3 separate regions of the Homo sapiens genome follow, and all the other regions are linked to region 2. The links are contacts of gene promoters, found by promoter capture Hi-C in blood cells and fetal thymus (Javierre and others, 2016). All regions are on one chromosome and are shown on one strand. The core of a region is centred on a gene start or on the middle of the fragment in contact, and the rest is flanking DNA. Distances in the headings are between cores, read along the strand shown. Region 1 overlaps MAST4 (microtubule associated serine/threonine kinase family member 4). Region 2 holds the start of MAST4 (microtubule associated serine/threonine kinase family member 4). Region 3 overlaps LINC02229 (long intergenic non-protein coding RNA 2229).

Evidence for each region. The method cuts DNA at HindIII sites, captures the fragments that hold promoters and counts their contacts. A CHiCAGO score of 5 or more calls a contact.
Region 1: a contact is called between a fragment that was not itself captured here and the fragment with the promoter of MAST4 in region 2, in 2 of 17 cell types (megakaryocytes and M1 macrophages). The highest score is 6.1, in megakaryocytes.
Region 3: a fragment that was not itself captured here is called in contact with the fragment with the promoter of MAST4 in region 2 in 1 of 17 cell types (total B cells); the score reaches 6.5 in total B cells.

Annotation. Positions count from the first base shown.
Region 1 is chr5:66,715,513-66,719,373 of GRCh38, forward strand. The region is part of intron 1 of MAST4 (microtubule associated serine/threonine kinase family member 4); the gene reads left to right. Among named protein-coding and RNA genes, the nearest start is that of MAST4, 120 kb to the left of the region's middle. The HindIII fragment of the contact is 2,513 bases long and covers 707-3,219 here.
Region 2 is chr5:66,595,070-66,598,921 of GRCh38, forward strand. It overlaps MAST4 (microtubule associated serine/threonine kinase family member 4), which reads left to right and starts at 1,324. Exons shown (of 29, transcript NM_001164664.2): 1 at 1,324-1,949. The coding sequence starts at 1,587. RefSeq lists silencers at 960-1,159, 1,770-1,909, 1,920-2,069. The HindIII fragment of the contact is 7,618 bases long and covers 1-3,852 here.
Region 3 is chr5:66,505,877-66,510,130 of GRCh38, forward strand. It overlaps LINC02229 (long intergenic non-protein coding RNA 2229), which reads right to left. Exons shown (of 3, transcript NR_105001.1): 2 at 2,900-3,071; 3 at 1,668-2,108. The region is part of intron 1 of LOC105379002 (a long non-coding RNA gene); the gene reads left to right. Among named protein-coding and RNA genes, the nearest start is that of LINC02229, 3.6 kb to the right of the region's middle. The HindIII fragment of the contact is 205 bases long and covers 1,986-2,190 here.

The DNA.
Region 1 (3,861 bases), core at 713-3,212, 120 kb after region 2:
ACTGTTGTGGGGTGGGGGGAGGGGGGAGGTATAGCATTAGGAGATATACCTAATGCTAAATGACGAGTTAATGGGTGCAGCACACCAACATGGCACATGTATACATATATAATAAACCTGCACATTGTGCACATGTACCCTAAAACTTAAAGTATAATAATAATAAAATAAAAATTAAAAAAAAAATTTAACCTGAAAGACTGGTTCAGGCCATGACAGGAAAAAAAAAAAAAAAAAATGGAGTGGAATTACTGTTGAAATATTGCTTATTCTGACAATAAAAATACTCATTTATGGATACAGATATCAAATTATCCTATCCATCTCATTGAGGAATGCATTTCCAATAAAAATTTACTTTAATGCTTTAACTTTTAATCATTATAAAATTATACATTTGTTCTCTCAAATTGCATTCTACTAATAGTTTTAATGATAATCTAGATTAAATTTTTAACATTTAGAACCATTTGGTCACAGGAAATAAAAAATACATTTTAATTTTCATAACTATTTTTGTTGCAGAAGGAGTATGATAGTATGATCAATAAAAAACCCTAAAACATAAAAGTGTTTTATTAGGATAAAATTCTGTGAGAGAAATGGAATGGAAATATAAATTTAAGGGAAAAAAAGGAACTATAAAAATTTGAGCGTAAAAGGGAAGGTTGTTCATGTATTTTAAATAACAATGGATACATTTAAAAGCTTGAATAAAAGCAGTTTCATTTTAAAATTTCATTATTTACAGTATGCAAGAAATTATATACCATGCCACTATTTAAACCTAGGATGAACAATTTTAGATTTGATCTCTCTCTCTATGTGTGTGTATGTGTGTATGTATGTGTGTATTTAGAGAGGGGGTCTTACTCGGTTGCCCAGCCTGGAGTGCAATGATGCAATCACACTTACTTTGAACTCATGAGCTCAAGCAATCCTCCTATGTCAGCCTCCCGAGTAGCTGGGACTACAGGTGTACATCACCGTGCCCAGCTAATTAAAAAAAAAATTTTTTTTTTTTTTTCTGTAGAGACAGGGTCTCCCTATATTACCCAGGCTGGTCTTGAACTCCTGGCCTCAAGCAGTCCTTCCACCTTGGCCTCCCAAAGTGCTGGGATTATAGGCATGAGCCATTGTGCCCAGCCTAGATTTTGTCTTTAAATTGTGTTAGAAGATATATGGATTTTAAAATTCTTTGTAGACCATTTCTCCAGGGCATCTGACCTGGACAGGTAGGGCTCATGATAGAAGCATACATCCCTTGTTTGTTGTGTTTTTTGGCTATCACCTTGACTACATTAACCATTGTAGTAGAGTACCATGACCAGAACTGATGTCACCTTTATCATTTATATCTTTCCCTTCTGTTTTGACTGAATTCCCAATAAGCCAAGCAATATCCATTCAACAAACACATGTCTCCTAGTGCATTATGCATGGGTCTCACAGGTGAAGAGGACAAAGTTCTCCCTCAAGGAGCTCATTCTGTAGGGGGAGACCAGCGCTTCTGATCCCAGGCGATGAGTATTAAGCGGGAGGGAAGCGAGGCTTTCCATGGCACACTGGACCCTGAAGAGGAGCGTTTCCTAGAGGAGCCTGGACTTCAGGCTAAGCAGAGCCCTGGAGGATGGAGACCCAGGATGGGCCCAGGACTATCCAGCCAGGTGAGGGAGGAGGCTACCCTATACTCTGTGGCTTGGAGGTGGAGAGGAGGGATTCATTCCTGGCAAAAATGCTGCTATTAAGATAGAAAGAGAGCCATCATTCTTGAATTAGGGGTTAAGGAGGCAGGGAGATGCCTATTTCTATGGTTTTTAAAACATTTCTTCTCTAATTTTCTTATGTAGGCAAAGGTCAAAGTGGATATTTTTACTATTATAAATTAGTAGCTATGCCTATATTCATAAAGAAAGGCCTCCTTTGGCACTTTTAGTTTTGACTGTTTTCTAGCAAATTGTGGGTGAGTACCATATCCAATGTATTAATTTTGACATATGGTTACACCTAGTGCAGTCTCAGCCAGGCAGTCCCTTGGGGTTACAAAGGCATAGAGTTAAATTTCCCAAGTTGGAAAAAGGCTTTCAGAAATGAGTTTCTCACTCCACTTGAAGTGGCTTTGCTACTGTTTCCCTGGGGAGGTTGCTAGGCATTTAATAGATCTCCATGTTAGGAAAATAAATTCTTTCTAGCATTGAAGTCTAAGGTGTTGTTCCCCCACCCCTTGGCCTCAGATTTGTGTGGTGGAGGCTGCAGCTAATCTCCCTTATGTTTATATTTATAAAACGTTTCCAGATGATTATCTCTTCCTGGTATCATTTGGCTAGTCCCAGGTATTCATTGTCTCAGTCATTCCCAGTTAGGCATAGCCCTGCTCACTGCCTGAGGGAAGGAAGGAGGCCGTGGGACCGCTGGGTCTAAGCCTGGTTCCTACCACCTCCCCACAGCTGTTAGCCTTCCTCCATCCCTGAGTTCTCACTGGGACATGAGGGACTGCGTTTCAGCTGTGACAGTATTTTGTTGCTCTTGGCCATTGCACAGTGGCTTACATCCTGTGTGCTTTAAAAAAAAAATGTCTCTTTCAAAGGCTCTTTTCAGAGTCTATGGGATGAGATGCACAGAGACAGACTATATATATTTAAAACCAGTGGGTTTTTTTTTCTTTTTTTTTTCTTTTTTTTTTGCTTTGCTGAGAAAAAGCATAAGCAAATGAGAGGGACTCTATTTGAAGGTTTTTTTTGTTTGTTTTTTTGTTTTTTTGTTTTCAAAGCACCTTTTACAGCTTGTCTTTCGGTATAAATGATTAAGTTATGATGTCATCTTGCTCCTTAGACACACGGCTTCTTCTACATGCTGGCATTTTTGTATGGTGAAGTCTCTTTTGGTGCCTCCTGAACCTGAGGACCCCATGAGTGCCTGGGCCAGTTCAGGTGCCCAGGAGAGGCTGATATGAGAGTGAGTGTGCTTGGCCCCGTGTGTGGTGGTATCTGTCTCAGGGCCCCTGGCTCTGGCAAGGTCATGTGGTATATAGCCTTTTCAGAGAAAGGGCCTGAGGGTTTTGTGGACAGCCTGAAAGATATCTATTACAGTGTTGTTTTTTCTGTTTGAAAATAAGAGAACTGAGCTGTTTTGAGAAATATCACTGAGTTTTTTACTAATGCCTCATCTCCCCAAGTTTGTCTGGATGTGCTCTGTTCCGGTAAAGCCAAGTTCCTGTAAAGCTTCGTTATCCTCCTTGAATCTTCTTCCTCTTTTGTATCATGCATTCGAGGGCTTGTTCCCTCTTGTTCCCTCTCGAGCTATTCCATTTCTCTTCTGTGCTTCTTGCTTGACTTCGAGTATAGTTTGTGAGTGCAGCTCTGCATTTTGAAAGCATGACCTGGCGTCATTCTTAGTAATAGCTTTGTAAATTCACATGCTTAACCATGTAGACTGTAACTTCCCTCTTCTTTGGTCTTTAACACCAAGCAGAGTTATACACTAGCATTACCTAAGCAACATCCAATTTCCGAAAGTGTCTAGAGGAGAAGCGGCAGGTATTTCAAATGCAGAATGGTTGGGGTGAGTTATGGGAAGTGAACTGCATATGTTTGGGAATTATTTTCCTTTTGGGGGCTAAGAATCCAGCTACAGTGGACCAGTGTGAGGTTGCATTGATGTAGGTCTAACCACCACCAAAAGGCACCGCCTTGGGTACCTCCTCTTGTTTGGCTATTTTAAAAGCTTTCTCAAACCTAATGAGTTGTAAGAAAAGATATAACTATTCTTTTTTGGAGGAAATATAAACTAGTTTTTTTTCCCTTACGAATCTTCTTCCCAATGGGAAATCACAGAGAAACAGGGCAGGGAAGGAGGAATAAG
Region 2 (3,852 bases), core at 74-2,573:
CCTGTATCACTTATCACAGCTTCTAAAATGGATAAGGGAGCTATATTATGCAGTATCAATCTCTCGCTTGACCATAAGCTGCTCAAGGGCAGGGGACCTGACTTATTAATCTTTGTATCCCCTGCACCTGGCACACATCTCCATCAACGTACATGGAACTGAGGCGGTTGAATTTACATCCCAGGTCACTGTGCCAGAGCTCAGAATGGGACTAGAGCTGAAGGCAAGAGAGGAATCATTTATTTCCCACTGCTGAGCTGAGTGCTGGCTTCCAAGGAAATTCCAGTCACCGGACAGGCAGCATCCTCCAGCCCCAGGGAAGGACTTAAGGGTACTCTATTGGTACCTTTAGTGAAAGTTCTTTCTCCTAGTTCTTAGAGGTAAGGAAAATGAAGCAACCTGTCCTGTATCCTGTTGGTTTACAACCCAGGGCTAGGAGAATGTACATTGGAAAGTGAATCCTTTTCATCCTCTGCTTAGCTGATCATACCGAGACAGACAATTTGAGTAGGACTACAGAGCTTGGTCCTAATTAAATACAAGGACATACTTTTTTATCTTCCTCCCTATCAAAAGGTTCAAGTCTCAGACTTAACTTTTTAGTTTACAAACAGAAATAAAGACAGGAAATAGTCTTTTAAAAACGCTCCGTGTATCCAAGCCAGGCACTTTGCTGATGCATTATATATATTTGCTCTAAGCCTGCCAAGACCAGTAGTAATGTAGCCATTTACAGTTGAGGAAACTGAGGCCCAAAGAGCTTAAACGGAAAAGCAGAGATTAGAGGTCACTCCCCTTTGGGTCCGCTCACTATACCACGAAGTTTCTGTCCTTTTCCTCCAACACGCTGGTGAGTCCGTGTGCGTGGGTGACTGTGTGTGTGTGGTTCCTTTTTTCCCTATAGAGCCCTCCTTCTTGTCCGTTTTCTTGATTCCACTTTTTGGAGACAAAGTCCAGTTCTTCTCCAAGGTCTCACCATCCGCTCGCCGTCTCCCTCTGACGTCCCAAGGACGGTCAGCCACTCCCCCGCTAAGTTCGGAGTCTCAGCCCTTGGCTCCGATTCTGGGCTCCGCCCCCACCCTCCGGGGACCCCCGCCTGGTCCCTGTCCCCTGCGCCCAGGCGCTCCAGCGGGACCACGGCCCGCGCCCGGGCCCCGCCTCCCCTACCTGAGGCCCTCATGGCCGGAGGCGTCGCAGCCTCCGCCCACCAGCGCGCCTGCCCTGCCATTGGCTCTGCGGGCTGCCCGTCTCCTTGCTCCGTCCCGGAGGCAGGTTTTGCAAGGAGAAGCCGCAGTACCCGCGGCTCGGGTGCAGCGCGGGAGCACAGTGGAGCGCAGATCGCGGACCCGAGCGGGCATGTCCCCGCGCGCGGGAGCCTCCGTTTGCGGCCGGGCCCGGGCGGCTGTGAACTTAGCAGCGGGCTCCTGCGGCCCCGTCACTGCCATGTAGTCGCTGGCGGGGCTCCCTGCAGCCCGGGAGCGGCAGTGCCAGTGAGCCTGAGCCCAGGAGCCCGCGTCTTCCCCGGGAGGCGCTGAGTGCGCGCCGCGCCCCCGCCGCTCGGGAGGCACTTTGGGCCAGACAGGGAAATGGGGGAGAAAGTTTCGGAGGCGCCAGAGCCGGTGCCCCGCGGCTGCAGTGGCCACGGCAGCCGGACTCCAGCCTCTGCGCTGGTCGCCGCGTCCTCTCCGGGTGCTTCCTCGGCCGAGTCCTCCTCGGGCTCAGAAACTCTGTCGGAGGAAGGGGAGCCCGGCGGCTTCTCCAGAGAGCATCAGCCGCCGCCGCCGCCGCCGTTGGGAGGCACCCTGGGCGCCCGGGCGCCCGCCGCGTGGGCTCCGGCAAGCGTGCTGCTGGAGCGCGGAGTCCTTGCGCTGCCGCCGCCGCTTCCCGGAGGAGCTGTGCCGCCCGCGCCCCGGGGCAGCAGCGCGTCCCAGGAGGAGCAGGACGAGGAGGTGGGCCTTTCCCCAGCTTGCCCACTCTGGGTTCCGGCAGCCGGGCGACCGTAGTTTCCCATCCTGCGCACAGGCAGTGGGCAGGAGAGCGCTGTGGCCTGGAGATAGGGAGGGACCCCAAGCGCTCTGCCCCGAGCACGGGACAACGATAGTTAGGAGCCCCCCTGTGGGTTATTGACTTCCCTGTGGCTGTTACCCCCGTGTGTGTGTCTCAGTGTGCTGCCTGATGGTGTGTTTTTAAAATGTCAGAGAAGCAAACTCCTTCGTGTTTGTATCTGACTTGGTTGATCTGTGAAAGGATGCGATCTGGACATCTGGCGTGTCCCCACAACTCACCTCTGATTCTCCAAAGTGGGCGTTGTTTCCCACCGAAGCGCTTGGGCCGAGGGGCAGGGAGTTGAGGGGGAGAAATGGTGCCTTGGGGGTAAGAGGCAGGAGTAGGGTGGGGGGCAGCGGTAGCCGCGGAGTTGCCTGCGGAGGTTTCAGTGGCGCCAGCCCCCTGGGATCGCCCGCGGGTGGTTTTGGCGCGTCCCCGCAGCGTCGGTCCTCTGGGAGAAGAGGACTCCCCGCGCTCCCTCGGTGGCGCTGGCGTGCGCGCCTGCAGCTCCCGTTCAGACTTGTTTCCAGCTTGTCCAGATGAACGCTTGTCACCAAACCGAGTACAGATCGTCTTACCTTTTGCGGGGCGGAGCGGGGTGGGGGATCTGTATCTGCCCAGTTTCCTGGAAGGATGTTCCTCCAGAACTTGTGGGTCGCTTCCTGACACACTGAGCATAGGACTCTGGTGTCCTTCTGGCTGCTCTGTCCGGCTTATTTTCTGCTTTTGGAGGACAGTTAAAGAAGTGTACAATTCTTCACGTCTCAGAGCCAGACTCAGTTTAAAAAAAAAAAAGATTGTTTGCTTTGGACGTTTCTTGTGGGGAAGTCATCTTGATCAGGCAGGGCCACAAATAAAACATCACCTTAACATAGACTTATTGTGAAATTAATTCCTGAGTGCCAGTGTTGTATTTTCCTCATCTTGGATGGGGTTAGCTTTAGTAAATAATTGCCTTTGTCCCTTAGAGTAAGCAATCAGAGGCCCCCAGCCTGGAAGCAAAAACTGGATGTGGCACAAGGTTGAGAGGAGGCGAGTCCTAGCTTGGCAGAGATGGAACAAGCCTTAGCTGCTTAGCTGGTTCTTGGCCAAGCCACTTGCAGTAACCATGACCCATTCCCTAATTCCCCTAAGCCCCCATTGCAAGGATCCTGGATAAGGGTCTGGAGGCCTGCTTTCTAGAACTGCCTCTGCTACTGAGTGGTGAGACCTTGGGTATATCATTTCACTCCTCTGAGGTTCAGTTCCATAATCTGTAAAAGGAGGAGCTTCAAGGTAAATTTCATTTTCACTCTCATACTCCTGTTTCGAATCAGGAATTTCAGATGAATCCATAGCTCCAAATCGATCCTAGCGGCGGGATGTCAGGAGTTTGCTGAGTTCCTCACCCACCGCAGAGCTACATCCTAGCGGAGATGATCAAACCCTGTACTGCCCCAGCCTTCCTCGCTGATTACATCTCCCTTTCAAGGTGCGGGGCATGTGCCACGTGTTTGCCCCTTAACTTCTGCCTCCACTTCTACAGATGAGCACACTGGCATTGGGAAGCTGGGGGTGTACCCTAACTTAATGATTCACCAATAGTTCCTAATTTAGTATTGCCGCTGGTGGAGAGTAGTTAGTTGCTTTATGTTTTCTATTTAGCTAGGAGGGTGCTCCATGGTAAGTGACATGGTCTTGCAGGTGGTGGGGAGGGATGTTGTCGGGGAACTTCTGATCCCCATTCTGTCGCTGATTTATTGCCTGGCCTCAGGGTGACAGTGCTTTGCTTTGTTGGAAGTGGATATAATGATAACTTATTTCACA
Region 3 (4,254 bases), core at 838-3,337, 88 kb before region 2:
CAACTATCTCTTTTTTTGTTTGTTTTTTGAGATGGAGTCTCATTCTGTTGCCCAGGCTGGAGTGCACTGGCGTGATCTTAGCTCACTGCAACCTCCACCACCCGGTTGAAGTGCTTCTCCTGCCTCAGCCTCCCAAGTAGCTGGGATTACAGGCACCCACCACCATGCCTGGCTAATTTTTTTGGTATTTTTAGTAGAGGTGGAGTTTCACCATGTTGGCCAGGCTGGTCTTGAACTCCTGACCTCAGGTAATCCTCCTGCCTCGGCCTCCCAAAGTGCTGGGATTACAGGCGTGAAATACAACTATCTTACATATAAGTGAAAATGTACAATTACTTTCTCCAGAAGAGGATTCAAAGTCCCTGGGTGTTGCCTACTCTTCTCCTTGATATCTCAGAACTTAAATACTTTGATAAAGACAAGCTAAATACTATGACATATATCGTATGTTAGGTGATAAAGGGATAAGAGTAGGAAGAAAACAAAGATGTTTGATACACACATACACATATAACAAAATAAGGAGGAAATGCTCATGTGAATGACAGTCCTTATTTCTGTAACGGGTCATGTGGCTGTAGCTGGTATTTATAACTGCCTTCTTCCACTACCTATTCCATGTTCCCTTTGTTCTCATCAAGCACCTTAGCTTGTTATAGTTATTTATAGTTCTTTACCTGAAAACGGGGGTGAGGATGACATGCAAATCTATCATTCCTGAAGAGTCTGGGCCAATCGTAGCCCAGCCCAGATTGGATTATTGTAGTTTTCCATTGACTTTAATCACAGGACACTGTAATAACAAGAGATGCCTTAAGGGAACTCCTGTATTCCCGATGTAGTCTTCATTACCTTCATTGTGGGATAGCAGTCTTATTTCTCCCTGGTAGTCAGAGTCAACCACCCTAGCTGGTATAGCAACACCCTTCATTGTCTGTTGATTTAGAGGCATAAGGATCCCAAAATGGCTGCATGTCAGAATCATTACTGTGATCCTGGTTGAACTAAAACCTCGTAGCTAGCAGAGCATAAGGTCACAGGGACAGAAAACATTTTGCTAGTGAGTCAGTAGGAGTAATAATTATGCCACTCCATTACCATCCCTTGATTCCTGGACCCACGAATCTTGGCTGTGGGTACTATACATCCAGTAGTACTATATATTTGATACTGATTTAAAGTGTATACAGCCTTACAGAGAACCTTGCCCCAGCCCTGCAAGATATTGCCACCTAGATGGCACGAAACTATAAGGCCTACCTGTAACAGAGTCTTCAAAAGGCCATACCAGTGTTCCATCAAGCCAGCTTCTTAAGAATGTTGGGGGACATGGTAAGACCAGTGAATTCCCTGAGCATGGGCCCATTGCCACACTTGATTTGCTGTGAAGTAATTTCCTGGATCAGAAGCAATGCTGTGTGGAATACCATCATGGTGGATAAGGCATTCTGTAAGTTCACAGATGGTAGTTTTGGCAGAAGCATTACGTACAGGGAAAGCAAATCTGTATCCATAGCAGAGTCTTTTTATTTCTCCTAGCACATAATGTTCTGGGTCAATCCTCCTTTCTAAAACAGTATACAAACATAAACACAGCTTATTGACTTGTTGCAGATACCATAAAAAAAAACTGGCAATATAGAAAGCCCATGAAAGAATTAACAGTATTTAAAAACTAGAACAAATTTAATAACGCTTTATATAAATTTGCTGCATCCACGGAAGTATGGAAACACTCACATTCCAGATATCAACCTGAGTTACAGAAGTTAAAACCTCTCCAAATACATCACCAATTTTCCCTGGTACTAAACACAGTCATCTTCTAGAAAGAAACACCAGTGACCCATATTTTAAACTAAAGCACACACTGCTTTTTGTAAAAAAGCAAAGTCATTTAAAGCAGCTAATTAAAATACCATTTAAGCAATTGCAATGGGTAACAGGATCATAAAATCATTAGTAAAGTAGAAGTTTGTCACTGAAGCTTCCACATGATCTTATAGACTAGAAGTAGACTGGTCAGGCTTCATAGACATCAGCTAACTGAAGGCACCAAACTCCATTAAGTCCTCAAATTTCAGTGTCTTATTTTTTTCTGAGCACCACTAGAACAAGAAAGAAAAAGCAATGGTAAGAGAAATATACCATGACCTATGATAGGGATTAGTTTTAAATTTTAGCCATAAAAGCTTAGTGTTGGTTTTTTTTATATATAAGCCATCTAGGTCAAATACTTACTGAATACTTATATATGCTTGTGCTTTGCTGGCCAATTTGGGGAAGGATAAAAGAGGTATTCAATGCTATGAGATGCTTCAGCCTAATTGAAAAGACTTGGACAATTAAAGCTCAGGGCAGTGAGTATGACAGAGTACCAATTAGATGTGAGAGGTAGTGCCTGCAGCAGGTCTCAGGGAACTATGAGATGCTGACCAATAGCACCCTACCTGTAGCAGCTATTCACAGCAAGGATGAATTCACAACCATAAATAAATTATGTATTGTTTGGTTCTAATTTGGATAAAATATTTTTATAACTTAAACTACCCAGTCATCTGTGTTGCCTGGAACAAGAACTTCCTAGGAGACCTAGGGAGTCTGCCCTGCTTCAATTGGAGGCCTAACGATTCTGCCCTGCTTCAATTATAAATTCCATGCCCCATGGAGTTCTTATTCTTAAACCTGTAAGTCCTGGCCTAGACACTCCCAGGCAGGTGGTGAACAGTGTGAAAGGACAGGCTAGTAAAGAGCCTCTGCCCTGGGAGCAGCACATATCTTGGTGCAGCCTTCTTGCCAGTGCTATTCTCCCTAACTTTGAACTTCCGAAGTCCCTCTGCCTAGGTGTTCCAGCTATACCTGATCCTTTTACATTTCCTGTTCTCTGGATGGTACTTGCCTGACTGCTGGGGTTGGCCTCCTGTTTCCAGTTCCATCTACTTCCTTCCATGTCCTTCACGGCTTCTCTGACCTGTCATGCCAACAGATTGCTCATGTTGGTAGAGCTCTGAATCCTAAACAGCCGCTCTGAAGCCCGAATTCACTCTATTCTGGATGATTTCACTCTTGATCTGGAAAAGGAAGAAAAGCCTTTAAGTGATTTTCCTCAGAGGTACTGTGTTGGTGTTCTGCTCTGCTTATGCTTTCACTGTGGCTGTGCCTCAGGCTCCTGGCTGCAGCCCATTTCTTTTCTGACCTCCACTCTCTCTCCCTGGACAATCTCATTCCCCTATGCCTGTAAGCTTCATCTTTCCTCTGATGAATCCCCAGTCCCTCCTCCAGGTTTTAGAGTATCTGAGCTGGCCAGGGACCTAAGCTACAAGACACAGAGGCTAACTGAAGCACTAAAGTAAATTATCAAAGAGATACTGTGTAGCTCCCAGAGTTGTTCGAAAAACTGGAGAACAAGACATAGAAAATAGGCTGGAAGAAAGGGAGGCAGAGCTAAGCCACAGCATTTGTCCAAGGAGGTCCCTACTGCCCCAAACACTGGACACTGCAGTTTGTTCTGCCAGTGTTACTCCTTGGGAAATGGGTGTTGTTGCCACCTCCAGAATGAATTCTCCACTGACCTTGCTTCTTTGAGCAACTTGCTCCTAATTCAGACTCTCAGATGGGTGCATCTGATTGGCCAAACCTAGATCATGTGTACATATCCTAGCTGCAAGGGGGCCAGGAAAACAAAAATCTGGCCTTTTAAGATTTTATGTTGGGATATGGGCTGTCCCTCATCAGGATGCATTCAGTGGGGAATTTTCCATCTATCCAAAGCAGATGACATTGGACAATAGAAATAAGTGAGAGAGAAAGGGAAAGCAAAGAATGGAAAGGAAAGGAAAAAAGCAAACGTACACCACAGAGACATGTTTTCAATTGCCCACTGTACAGCTTTACTAGATCTCCTACAAATACCTCAAACTGTGTGTCCAAAAGTGAACCCTCCATCATTTATCCCCAATGTATTCCTCCTCCTCCCTTTTCTTTCTTGGTATCTGATTGTTTCCTCATTCATCCAGTCACTCAAGCCCCTAAACTCAGTTATTCTCCCTCCCTTCTAATGACTCTGGTCATCAAATGCTTTGGATTACATATACTTTATGTTTCTAAAATACATCTCTTTTTCTGAAAGGTCACTGCCATTCCTTCAGGGCCAACACTCATCAGCTTTTGTCCAGATGAGCACAGGAGCTCCCTACTATTCTCCCAGCCTCTAACATTTCTCCATGGCACTTGTCACAGTTGCAATTGCATTTG